3 separate regions of the Homo sapiens genome follow, and regions 2 and 3 are each linked to region 1. Evidence: promoter capture Hi-C in 16 types of primary human blood cells and fetal thymus (Javierre and others, 2016). All regions are on one chromosome and are shown on one strand. The core of a region is centred on a gene start or on the middle of the fragment in contact, and the rest is flanking DNA. Distances in the headings are between cores, read along the strand shown. Region 1 holds the start of RGS4 (regulator of G protein signaling 4). Region 2 has its middle 100 kb from the start of CCDC190. Region 3 has its middle 85 kb from the start of RGS4.

What was found. Contacts are between HindIII fragments. The CHiCAGO score rates a contact against its expected background, and 5 or more counts as called.
Region 2: a fragment that was not itself captured here is called in contact with the fragment with the promoter of RGS4 in region 1 in 1 of 17 cell types (endothelial precursors); the score reaches 5.2 in endothelial precursors.
Region 3: a fragment that was not itself captured here is called in contact with the fragment with the promoter of RGS4 in region 1 in 1 of 17 cell types (endothelial precursors); the score reaches 6.8 in endothelial precursors.

The regions. Positions count from the first base shown.
Region 1 is chr1:163,067,380-163,071,856 of GRCh38, forward strand. RGS4 (regulator of G protein signaling 4) reads left to right here and starts at 1,982. Exons shown (of 5, transcript NM_005613.6): 1 at 1,982-2,149. The coding sequence starts at 2,106. The HindIII fragment of the contact is 6,604 bases long and covers 1-3,269 here.
Region 2 is chr1:162,959,878-162,964,354 of GRCh38, forward strand. No RefSeq gene overlaps it. Among named protein-coding and RNA genes, the nearest start is that of CCDC190, 100 kb to the left of the region's middle. The HindIII fragment of the contact is 645 bases long and covers 1,791-2,435 here.
Region 3 is chr1:162,982,318-162,986,794 of GRCh38, forward strand. No RefSeq gene overlaps it. Among named protein-coding and RNA genes, the nearest start is that of RGS4, 85 kb to the right of the region's middle. The HindIII fragment of the contact is 2,407 bases long and covers 989-3,395 here.

The DNA of each region.
Region 1 (4,477 bases), core at 732-3,231:
CTTTCTGGGTCTCTATTTCCTTTTTGGTGAAATGAGAGTGTTAGGCTAGATTGCCTTTGAAGTCCCATTTTGTCTTTAAAGTCCCATCTATTGCAGTGATTTATATTTAACTCATGACAAATCAGGCTTCTCTTATTCTAAGTGCAAGACATAAAACTTTTATTGTGGAATTTCAGGCATCAGTAAATCTTTTTGGGTACTCACTTATGTTCCTGAAATCAATCTATTTGAGTGATCACTCTTTTAGGTGCCCAGGTAAACAAAGAAGGCCATGGTCTTTCTTTGAGTGACCTTCTTTCCCTTTTAATTAGTCTGACCTCTTTAATGTCAGTTCTGACTGATTCATTTCCCTGGTCCATCTTCCTTGGTCTGAGGGCCTTCCTAGTTTCATATTGCACTTCAGTTCCTTCCACACCACCATCAAGGATGGCTGTCAACATTCATTTGTTCTATGTTATAATTCAAGGAAAAGTTGCCCAGTAGCTAATCCAATAAATGCCCTCTTATGGGCGGCTAGAGACTTTTTCCTATAATTTAAATGCATCTTCTGTAGATTATGGTCCCTCCACCACTTTACATTTGTCTGCTGTCTCCTTGCTCTGCTAGTCATGGAACGTGTTGGTAGTGGGGGCAGTGTGGGATGTTCAAGGGCACGTATTGGGTAGGGCCACATATGGGCATTGCTTTGTGCCATTCTTTCTATATTTTTGGTATTTTGCATCTCACTGGAACCCAACTATTTTTCATCTCTTCCACCTAAACTATTTGATGCCTCTGTTTCTTATATATAAAGTATAGCTCACTGTAGCCTATGATCAGGAACCTATCTGCTTTCTAAATGAAAGCTGTTTTGGTCAGATCTAGCAATTAATTCCCTTCTTCCACTTATAGCTTTCCTCTGTAACTCTGGTGTAGGTATTTGGTTTATGGCTATAAGATGTGAAACACCTGAATGATTCTGTCCATGCAGGCATTTCAGTTCATGATATTGTATGTAAAAGATACTGATTGTCTAGGTGTTCAGAAACACCTATAGGGCTTAATATTCTTACAATCAGTTTGAAGGCTGGTGATACGCAAAGCAAACTACATATTTTTCTGCCTGCTCTCTCTCTTTCTCTCTACATCTCTCTTTCTTTATCTTTTGAAATATCAGTTTGGAGACTTAGAATTACATAAGACATAAACCCATTTGATATAAGAATTGCTGTGTATATTTGCTCATCTACTCCCTCCTTTGGTCCTCGAGCTGCCGGTTTAGACTTTTTACAGGACGCAGGCATGTGAAGGAGAAACTGTCAGTGCTAGGCTGAATTCTGTTGTTACCAAGATTTCTAGAAAAGTATTCCTCAGTCAGGTTGATTACAGATATAGCAAATCTATTTTTCCTAGGGTAGTTTCTGTATGCTGCCGGGCTTATAACTGTCTGTCATCCAGCTATTTCTCTCCACCTTCTTGTTTGCATAACAACCAAGGCAACTTCCGCAAATCACTGCGTGGAGACGATGATCCTGCCAGCTCCCTTTTGGAAATCGTGAGGATCAGATCTTGGACCATGTATAATATGATGCTTCTAATCCAAAAGAGGAAAGGCATTGGGAGTCAGCTCCTAAGTAAGCTCCAGAATTCCTGCTGGTACTTTTCCTTCCAGGAAGCAACTTCCTTGATATTTTTTTTTTACAGGCATATGAATAAAAACTATATTTTGCAGCATTGTACACTTTTTTTCCTTTTCTAGAAATTCTAAACCTCTGACATTGGTGGAGACATTGAGTACATTTTTTCCCATATCCCTACTTTTCAGAAGGATTTTCTCTGCTCGTTCACTTAACATTGCTGATGCGTCAGTCTTTTCTTCCTCATCTCTTTCAGGGGCTGGAGAGGCAGAGGGAGACAGAGGAGCTGGTACTGCAGAGCGGTCGTCTGATTGGCTGGACGGTCGTAGCTGGGCTATAAAAGAGACCCCTACAGGCTTAGCAGGAAGACGCTCAGAGGATTCTGACAATATCTTTACCGGAGAAGAGGCAAAGTACGCTCAAAGCCGAAGCCACAGCTCCTCCTGCCGCATTTCTTTCCTGCTTGCGAATTCCAAGCTGTTAAATAAGATGTGCAAAGGGCTTGCAGGTCTGCCGGCTTCTTGCTTGAGGAGGTAAGATTGCTTTCAGCCATTAACCATATTAAACTTTTGGCTAGACTTTCTCAGTTATTTACATGTTGTACTTACTAACCTAGTTCTGTGCAATTAGAAACAGTGTGGTCAGGAGAGCACGACTTTCTAACTTTCCTCCAAGACTAGCTAGATATTGTGACTTAAGACATGTGCTCCCCAAATTTCAGCCCTTATGTGTTGTTTTGTGTGACCTCAGTTTTGAGAACTGTTCTATTCTTTAAGCCAGGTCTAAGAAAGCTAGTTTTAATTAAGAAGCGAGATGAGGTTTGAGGCTATGTACAGTGATCTGTAATATCTCCATCTGTGATTACTACTGCTATTTGAGCATCCCTGGAGTACATAGAAGCCTGGCTCTGGGCTTTCTGATTGTATGCTACAACTTGTTTCAGGAAAGGTACCCCAGAATGAGGTTTGGCTCCATCATCAGAAAGGCACTATGCTTTCCGTGTGGTGGTGCAGTAACTTTCACTCTCTATGTTCTTATAAGCAAATGTTACAATGAGATATGAGTTTTAAAGCCAGATCTTCCTTATCTCTCTGCCCCATCTCTAGTTCTTGAAGTGTCTCATATGAGTTTGGTTGAGAAATATTGATCATTACAAATCAGTTAATAGTTTTGTAGAAGATCTCATCTTAAAGACATTGTTTTGTTAATATACTCCCTTGATTTTTTTAAAAGACCTTACAGACATACAGCTATTCATTTGTTTTTGGTTTGTTCAAAAAAGGTATAAAGAAATGCATTCAGAGAAAGATCATATATTAGCCAGTTGAAAATTAAACACAAAATGAGTGCATATTACATTACTTAATCTTGCAGTCAAAGGTAAAAAGTCAACCTAAAGGTATACTACCTGCTTTCTTATCGCACTGCAAATAGAAATTACCACAAATTTTATTTTGGAAATAATCTCAGAAAACATAATTTTTTATGTACTATTAAAACATTTACTTTCCAAATATTCTGTCATTCAGGAGTATGGAAGTATCGATGGCTTCTTTAAAATGAAGCAGGAGGGTCTGGCAGAGAGTATCTATGAAATAAGTTCCTCTGACCTTCACGCTTAATTTTCTGAATGGAGTGGAGCAAATTACTTCAAGCTTCACTTAACTTGCATATGAAATGAACCGTACAAAAATACAAGAGTGTCAGGAGAAAGTTATGCTCTGGTAAATATTTTGCAAAACAGATAAAAGATAATACTAGAGCTCTGTCCTCAAAGAGTTAAGCAGCTAATCTAAGGAGGTAAACTCTATGTCAGCAGGATGAACTGCTCTTCCCTTTCCTCCTCAATAAATTGCAAATCATCTAGTCCAACATCTTTACCACCAGTGCCTGAGGCTCCAGAGGAGCCATTGCCTTCTCAAGGTCACATAGGTGGTGGGTGAGTTAGGACCAAATCTAGAATTCCTGACTCCAGTAACTTCTGAAGTCATTTTGTTTTTTATTTTTATGGTTTTATTATAAGAATACTTGCTAAGCACACTTACCCCCTGCATTGATTAATAACTCTAGGATCTCAGGTGGATCCAGCACATAGAAATATGAATTCGTTTCTATTTGGACTTCATGATATATTTACATTATCACCTTGGAATCACCCTAACATTCAGGATTGTATCTTGTTATAATCAAAAAGGATGTTGCATCCCCTGAACAGTCATCAGTCAGGGAAGCAGAGGAGGGAAAGTAATCTTGCGAGGAAGAGAAAATACTATTTAAGGGACAGTCAGAGAACATAATGGAATTCAAACTTTCTGGGAAAACCTACATACATAAATGTATTAGTGGCCATCCTAAATGTCTTTATATCTTTGAGGCTTTATTTTCCCTACTCCAAATAGACACATTTAGTTATTCATTTCTTTTAAAATGGTATTTCTCTTTTTAAACTATTTCTTGACTTTTTTAATAAAAAGAGATGCAAGCAAGAGGATATTTAATAAAAAGTAAGAGAGTTGAGCTTAAGGCTTATTAAAAGACCCCCTTTTTCTAGTTAGTCAGGAGCTCTAATGTGCCCTGGCTACCTATTAAATGGTGGCAATAAACTGGAAGCTCAGTGATGACTCTAGCCTGCTTCTCCTAATAGCTGTTAAGCCTCAAATGCCCTTTAGAGTGTGTATGTCCTTTAAAGTAGCTATTAAGAAGGAAAGCAGCAGCAGCAGATATTGTCTAGAAAGAAGCCCCAAGAAGCTGAGGTTTCAGCTTGGGCATTTGTTTTCGCCATCCCATGCTCCATTTCCCTCTGCTGGAACTGTGCACCTCAGTGTATTCTCCCTCTATACCTCACAGCAGGAACTGCTTGC
Region 2 (4,477 bases), core at 863-3,362, 110 kb before region 1:
AGTACAGTGGCGCGATCTCTGCTCACTGCAAGCTCCACCTCCCGGGTTCACGCCATTCTCCTGCCTCAGCCTCCCAAGTAGCTGGGACTACAGGCTCCCGCCACCACGCCCAGCTAATTTCTTTTTGTATTTTTAGTAGAGACGGGGTTTCACCGTGTTGGCCAGGATGGCTACGATCTCCTGACCTCGTGATCCACCAGTGTCGGCCTCCCGAAGTGCTGGGATTACAGGCATGAGCCACTGCACCCAGCCGAGTCTTTTAAGTTTTCTTATTCAGCCTTTCGTTATTTAAAGGAAGAAGCTAATCAAAATAATAAGATACACGATCAGAATTACAGTATCATTTCCTGTTCTCTCTTTTCTCTGTTAGCACCTTCTGAAATAAGGTGGAATTTTTAGGTCTATACTGAACATTTCCTGATTCTACCATACTTTCTAGTCTTTGAGTGTTATGCAGTTTTGGGGGGAGAGTTTCATTATATTATCTTCTAGCTTATGTCCATTGTGTTTTTTTAATTCAACTGTAAAGCCCAACTTTGTACTTCAATTCTCGAATGGTTAATTTCCATTTTTATACTTAGTTCCTTTAAAATCTACTTTATAAATATATACCTTTTAAATATGCAGTTTAAGGAATTTCAAAAAATTTAAACAACTTTGTAATTATCACCAGTCATGATATAGAACATTTCCATCATTCCAAAATGTTCCCTCATGCCTCTTTGGAGTCAATCCTCTCCTCTCATCCCTAATCCTTGACAACCACAGGTATACTTTCTGTCACTAGAGTTTTGCCTTTTCTAAAATTCTACATAAAGGCAATTATATACTATGTAACATTTTGAAACTAGCTTTTTTTCACTTAGCATAATGCTTTGAGATTCATGACTTTTGTTATGTATTTAAGTGGTTTCTTTATTTTTATTGTTGAGGAGTATTCCACTGCATGGATATACCACAGTTATTTATCCAATCACTCATCAATGATTGGGTTGTTTGCAGTTTTTGGTGTGGATATTCGTGCCTGGTCAATGGCTGCTTTTGCATTACGGTGGCAAAGTTGGACAGTTCTGATAGATACCACATAACTTTCAAATCTAATAATATCTGTCCTTTATCCAATAATGTGACCTTTGCAGAAAGTTTGCCACCCCTTCATAGAGTATATTTAAAATAGCTGTTTCAATGTCTTTGATTGTTAATTCCATCAATTCTGTCATTTATGTTTCTTGTAATTGATTATTTTTTCTTTGCTTATGGGTCACATTTTTCTTTTATATGTCTGGCAACTTTTTACTGGATGCTGGACATTGTGAATTTTATGTCACTATGTGCTGAATTTTGTTGTATTCTTTTAAATAGAGTTGGAATGTGTAATGGCATTTGTTTACGTTACCTGGAGTCAGTTGTATTTTTTCAAAGTTACTTCTAACCTTTGTTAGAGCATTTCCAGAGTTGCCTTTGGTCTTGCAAAGAAAAATGCAAAATCTCAGGCTCCTCAAACTCTTTATGCCAACGGAAAGATTAAGTCTGGAGGCTTGAGTCATGCAACACCCTCTTCCAAATCAATAGCTGTTACTAGCATTATGCATCAGCCAGATCCCCATGGAAATATAGAAGGCCTCAGGCATCTACAAATGACTGCCCCCACAGATCATTCATAAGTAAATTCTTTGCTTGCCCCCCATAAAAAAGGACATGCCAAGGACATAGTAACTTTAGGTCTATAAACTAAGCCTAGCTTCAAAAACAAAAGTCTGTTCCATTACACACTGGTGATGTTGATTTTAAGCTTATCTTCCCAGGGGTAGAACAAAGACAAACCAAGATTAATAATTTCTCAACCCACCTGGAGATGTCTACATAATTGATTCTTCCTTTACTCCTTTTTTTTTTTTTAATCTTAAAACATTTACCTTACCTTATGTAAAATGTAGATTTACTGGGCACCAGCTAAAGTCCCACAAGATTGTAACTATTCACCTTATTGCCTACTTGCCCATCTTCCTACTTGCCTCTCCTCACCCTTTAAGGGAATGTATAAATATTAAACCTCCTGACAAATCTCTTCAGAAAAAAAGCCACAGATGCATCTCATATTTTTCCCAGACATGCCCTTAAGCTGGCTCAATAAACCTCAATTGATTGAGATCTTTCCCTCAGTCCCTCACTTCTGTTATCATTCTAGGGAAAATCTAACACTATTAATAAAGCCACTATCTTCTAAAGACTACTGGATGCCACTTGTCTTATGAGGTCATTTCACTCTAGCTTTTGGGAACATAAACCAATCCTGGCCCTGTGTGACGTATGGAAATTATCTAGTGGACTGTTTTTTCCATTGCTGTTTCCCTAACCTTGGGAAGTTTCTTCTCACTCATGTAGAGATAAGTACTCAACCAAAGTGCCAAGGAGACTTTTCTACAGATCTGTGAAGCTTTCTTTCTGTGCATCTCCCTTATTTATGATATTCTTTTTCATTAAATCTAGCTGACCTGGTCTCCTTGAACTCCCATCTCTGTCTCCTTAACTTAGTAGGAGTGCTGGGCTTTGAGTTTTTCCTTTCTGTATGGCAACCTCAAAAATGCTTCTAGTTGTTTTCCTCTTAGAGATAAGAGACCTTTCCTGCTTATGTTTCAGCATTTAAAAATAATTATTTCATATAGTCTGCTTCATTTTCTATTGTTGTATGTGGAGGATAAACCCAGTCTCTGCTACTGCATTATTGTAAGAAATGGAATTGTAGCATTGAAACTGCCTTTGCAAAAATGATAACTGTGAGAAAATTATGACAGTGAAAAAAATCTGATCTAACCAACACCCATCTCTTGCTTTTAGGCTCCAAACTGCTCCTCATCATTCCTGGGCTTTGGCCAAGCTAACTTGGGGAGACATTTAGTTTATAATTTAAATGATGAAAGCCTGTCCTCAAAATTAACCAACTTTGAAAAGCTAATGAAAGACCACCAGGTTGGGAGGATGAGAAGAGCCTGAATTCTGCTAAGATGTAGATATAAATGACTACCAGACTTTATTCTGGAAGTCACAAGATTTGCAACTTCCCCAATTACTCCTGCAGATAATATCACTATTGGCCTTTTGAGATGTCCTTTTCAGGTTTTTGCATTTCTGATGACCAATGCCTTTACCTGGACCCATCAGCTAGTCCCATGGCCCCACCCAGAAGTGGACTCAGGCACCCATAAGGACCATTTTCCGCACCCCTATGATTGCACCCCCAACCAATCAGCAGTACCCATTCCCTGGGCTGCCAAACTATTTGTGAAAAACATAGCCTCTGGATTTTCAGAGAGACTGATTTGAGTCATGAAACTCTGGCCACCCATTCACCTGGCTCTGCATGAATTAAACTCTTTCTCTATTGCGTTTCTTCTGTCTGGATAAATTGGCTCTATCCAGGCAGCTTGCAAAATGAACCTGTTGGATGGTTATAGTGTTGTCTCTTTTTATTGCTTAGTCCTCCTTTTACTTGCTCTACTTCATCTTCTACGTGGTGGGCCAAACAACAGTGGGCAGCTATTTCATCCTCCTGAATATCCAAAACCCAAAGAATTTCTCTCCTTACATGGTCCACTAGAAAAGTCTCAGTAAGAATTCTAATTTGCTTGGTTTGGTTCATGTTTGCACTTTTCGTCTTTTTTTTCCATCTCTTTATTGTGCTGTGTTTTAAGAGATTATCCTTACTTGATGTTCTAGTCCTCTAATTCACTGTTTATCTGTCTATTGAGATTTTTCTTTCACTTTTCTTTTTTTTTTTTTTGAGACAGAGTCTCGCTCTGTCGCCCAGGCTGGAGTGCAGTGGCGTGATCTCGGCTCACTGCAAGCTCTGCCTCCCGGGTTCATGCCATTCTCCTGCTTCAGACTCCTGAGTAGCTGGGACCACAGGCGCCTGCCACCATGCCCAGCTAATTTTTTTGTATTTTTAGTAGAGACAGGGTTTCACTGTGTTAGCCAGGATGGTCTCGATCTCCTGACCTCGTGATCCACCCACCTCTGCCTCCCAAAATGCTGGGATTACAGGCGTGAGCCACCACACCTGGCCCACTTTTAACTATTAATCTGTAGTCTCTCTGAAGTCGATTTGTTATGGATATAACATTATGTTATATATTTCTGAAGAGATTTATATTCAAGTGACTGCATTACTTTATTTTACCTCCTGAAGTATTTAGTTCTTCAGTTTGGGGAACTTTTTTTTGCCTCTTTTTAATTGTTTTAGTTCCTTCAAGTGTCTTATGATAGATGGTTGCTCAGTTATCTTTTGATAATCCTTGTTTGATTTGAGGGAGGTGTCTGAATAGCATGAAATGGATTTTTTCTTTTATAACAAGGGAAGTTCTTTACCTGTCTAAGGGGTGGGGGATAGGTGCTAGATGGACAATAACAATAAATATCCAACATGCTATCTGATATTGTCTCTAATGATTCTACTACTTATCCTCAAACTCATTTGATT
Region 3 (4,477 bases), core at 942-3,441, 85 kb before region 1:
CAAATGATAAATGCTTTCCACAATCTTGTGACAGCCTGAGCCCTTAAAGGGGCAAGGGACAGTCATTGCCCCTCAAAGTATGCTCTGTGCTCTGCAAGATGACCTTAAGGCTAAAAAGGAAGGTTTCCATAATGCCATGTCACTGGGCCAATTTCATTTCTCCTTTTCATTAATGAAGAGTTTATCAGTTCACCAGCCTCAATAAGTCTTTCAGGAATTTTTTTTGAATTCAAAGATGGGGATTGTGCAAGACCTGCTTCTGGAGGGATTGTAAGAGAGCACCTAAATATGCTTATTAAGAAATAAAGAGGATACATTTCTTCTACAAAACTGGTAATAAAATAATTTCATGTAAATATGTATTTTTAAAAAATTAGCCCTTGATATATTCTGTTATGTTATTATTAAGATCCAAATAACCTGATGAACATAATTCTCAAATTCTGATGCAGTTAACTATTCCCTGTCAGCGGTAAGTGGATGATGCATACACTCATTTCCCCATTCTAAAAGGTTCATGTTATTAACTTTTCCTTTATGGACCTTTCCTCTTGACTCAGGGCAATGAAAAGTGAAGGACTTTTGTGGCATCTGACTACCAGGGTGATCTCCTTCATTTCAGAGCAGAGGGTGGTATGTAAGGGTGCTGGTATGTGTTCATTTTGGATGAGGGAGAGTTTCTAATTACTCACTTTTGAGTGTAAAAAATACAGACCAGAAATGAGTGACAACCATATTCGGACCATCAATGAATTCATATTAATGGAAGCACTAGGCTCAGGGAAGTTTCTCTTATCATATGTGACTACAGATTAGACCAGTGGCTCTCAAAATGTGGTCCCCAGACCAGACCAGCAGCATCAGCATTACCTAGGAACTTATTAAAAATGTAAACTCTCTGTCCCCACCTAGTGAGTCAGAAACTCTGTTGGTGGGGCCAACAATCTGTAGCTTAACAGGCCCTCCAAGTAATCCTGATGCATGCTAAAGCTTGAATTCTTATTCTTTTTGCTCTTCTGGTTTTTCACATCTATCTCGCTGTGCTCACTCCTTCTCATCGCAGTGGCTCATGCTACACAGCCAGGGTCAGTGGAAATCAGAAGTATTGGACTTCAGCCCTAGTTCCTTCTCTAACTAGCTCTAAATCTTTGAGAGAGATTATGCAAACTTCAGTTTCCTTAGCACAAAAAATAATATCATGATAACATCTGTTCTGCTGACCTTATAGACTCATATTAGATAAGTATCAAATAAGACACATGAAAGCATTTTAAACTGAAAGGGGTGAGAAAATGTATGGTAAGAATGATGCTAGTCATGGTTATTGTGTCTATGTTCTTCTTACACAAAGACTCAGATAAACCCTTCATAGGAAATCAGTCTACATGTATTATGCAGCGTATATTAATATTATTTAAAAGACAGTGCTAAAAACTAGGGAGTCTTGAGATAAAGAAGAGATATGACTCTTGCCTTAGCAGAATTTCAAAACTAGTTGGTGGGAGGCATTATAAGCACATATCATGTATCTTCAAAAGACCTACAACAACACATAATTATTGGGCAGATGGCATGTAGAATCAGGTGTGATTCATTCATTCCAACGTTGCAGCCTTCTTTGGGTCATAGACCCACCCTTTGAGAATCTCATTTTTAGAATTGTTTAGCACAATAATTCTAGGGATCCTTTACCTAGAAAAGTGCACCACCTATGCATTACGACTCAAAATATGTGTAAAAATACAATTTTTAGATATTGATAGACTCTCTTGAAATGTACTTACAGACTTCTAGATTAAGAACTCCCCTGGTTTTGGAGCAGATAAGAGACAATGATTAGCAAAAAGAAGGAAATTTGGTTTTCCCTGCAAGCTCTTTGAGAATCCTGTGGTTGGTAGTCTCTGGGCTTCTCTTGTGACTCACTTTAACCAACAATAATGGTGGAGTTAATATGGTGCCTGTTCAGGACTGAAGCCATAATAAGGTGCAGAAACTGTGCTTTTGTGGTTTTGGGAGCCCTAAGCTGCCATATAAGAAGTCTACCTTACTAGAGAGAACATCTAGAGAGGCCAAGTTAAGAGAGAAAGAGAGAGACTCAGTCCTACCAACAACCCAGATGAACCCAGCCCTGCCAAGGCATGTGAATGAGCCATCTTAAGTGTTCCCACCAGTGACGTCCCCAGATAACTATAGCCCCGGCAGACTCCATGTGGAGAAGAAATGTCCAGCTGGACACCCAGTCAATTCATAAAATCATGAGAGATAATAAAAACTATTCTTGTGTTAAGCCACTAAGTTTTGGGTGTGATTTGTTATGCAGCAGTAGATGTCAGAAACAAATGGCTAGAACAAAAATAAGAAATTGGGAATTAAATGAATTATGTTCCAAAAATAATGTGAAGATTAATGGGCCTAGAAGAGTCAACACAGAAATTTATGTGAGAAGTAGGATAGTAGAAATGAGGCATGCCAAGTTCATCCTAGGCTTTAAGAGTTACAGGAAATTACTGTGTTCTCAGGCATCTCTTGTATCTGGAAGCAGGATGTACGTCACTTTCTAATAGGCTTATCTTTTGGGTGAGGTGGAGTAAAGGGTATTAAGGGAGATGCAAAAACAATCACAGTCTACACTGATTCATATGTGAAACATGGAACACGGACCCAGGCTTGCTCTAGCCTAGGGAGAGCTTTGCTTTATGAGCACTGGGGAGGAAGGAAGCATCTGATACTTCTTTGGGTTCCCTATTGGTTCTCACTTGTTTATTCCTATAATTATCAGAAAAAGACCTTGCTTCTAGCTTTTAGAAAATGGGAGAAACATTCCTCTTTGGAGTAATTCACAAAGACATATTGATTGCCCCTGTTGGAGGCCTTGAAAGAGGATACAGGAAAGGTAAAGACTAGAGATCTATTCTTTCATTTGGAATGCAACTATCATCAGCTACTTTTGCAGGACAATGGAGCACTCCCAAAACTGGCACTCAAATTGGCCAATCTGAGCACATTACCAGGGCCAGCAATACGTGCAAATTTGAAATTGGAAAAGGGACAGTGCTTGGGATGGCATAAAACTAGGGACAAAGTCAGAAAGTCTTGGATGCCACTTCTAACATCGTGCCCCAACCACAGCTACTGAGAGCCTACGTGGAGTAATGGCAGAAGTCTTACTCTCAGAGACACTGGAGTTTTGTTCTGGTGCTATTATTAATCTTCAACAAGACATTAGCAAGTCACTTCTCTTCTCCAGGCTTCAGTCATCTTATTTGTAAAAGCATTAGACCACACTAATGCTTCTCAAACTTCAATGTGCAAACAAATCACCTAGGGATCTTGTTAAAGTGTAGATTCTGATATATTAGGTCTAGGGCAGGGTCTGAAATTCTGCATCACTGGCAAGCTTCTAGATTATGCCAGTGCTGCTGATGAGTGGATCATACTTTGAGTAGCAAGGGACCAACCAGCAGATTCCCTTAGGCCATCTTTCAGGTTCGTGATTCTGATTCCATTCTTTGACTCTCGAAATCATGAACACTCCATTTCCCTACTACCTCCTCTAAAACACAAATAATTCACCAAGTAAAGATGCTTATGAAGTTTCCAATGTTTGTCAGATGTTTGTCAAGCTTAAGAAACCAAGCTCTATACACTGACCACATGCAAATGTGTAGCTCTTACCCTGACCTACGTGGGCCCTGAGATGTGTGTCTTGTGAGAGAGGTAACATTTGGATTCTTTCCCAGGCAGCCAAACCATACCATGCAAAAAGAATTTGAATCTGGAAAAACAATGAAAAACTTTTCCTTTAGCAAATCAGCTCAGTAGAGCAGCACCCAACACTGCAAGTTATCCTCCTAGCAATTAGCATGCAAATGACTTTTGACACCCATTTGCTAATGTCAGCTTAATGCAGACATATGGGAGGATATTGAAGTAGAAAGCTACTGCCCTTTTAGATGACAGCAATTATTATTACATTTCCAGGAACTCCTTTCTGTGTTCCCATAGCAACTCAGATCAATTTAGCTTTACTGATACACTGAACAGGTTTAGTTTTGGAGAGGGAGTAGTTAAGGCCATCCTCAAGTAGAAATAAGTAGTTGGCCGCACAATCTGTCATTTCACCCCCACTTTCACCCTACTCACCTTGTATGAAATTCCCTCTTTATGGGAGTTGCAATGCTGCTTTTTAGTTCCGGCCAGACATATTTTAGTCTTATAAAAATATACATTTTTTATTCCAGAACCTTGCCGCCATTTCACCATCACTTTGGAAAGCTGCTAAGTTGTGTTAGTATAGACAGAATACAACTGTTTCTTCATTATCCTGTCACTTATTGAGCATGCAAATTTTCTATTTCATTTATTTGGAGCTTGAAGGATTTTCTTACCTGTGAGAGTTCCCGTTCCCAGTGTATATGCTCCTGTGAAGAGATTTATTGCATTACAGATAGCTCTAGACTGGAAGTCAGGATATTGT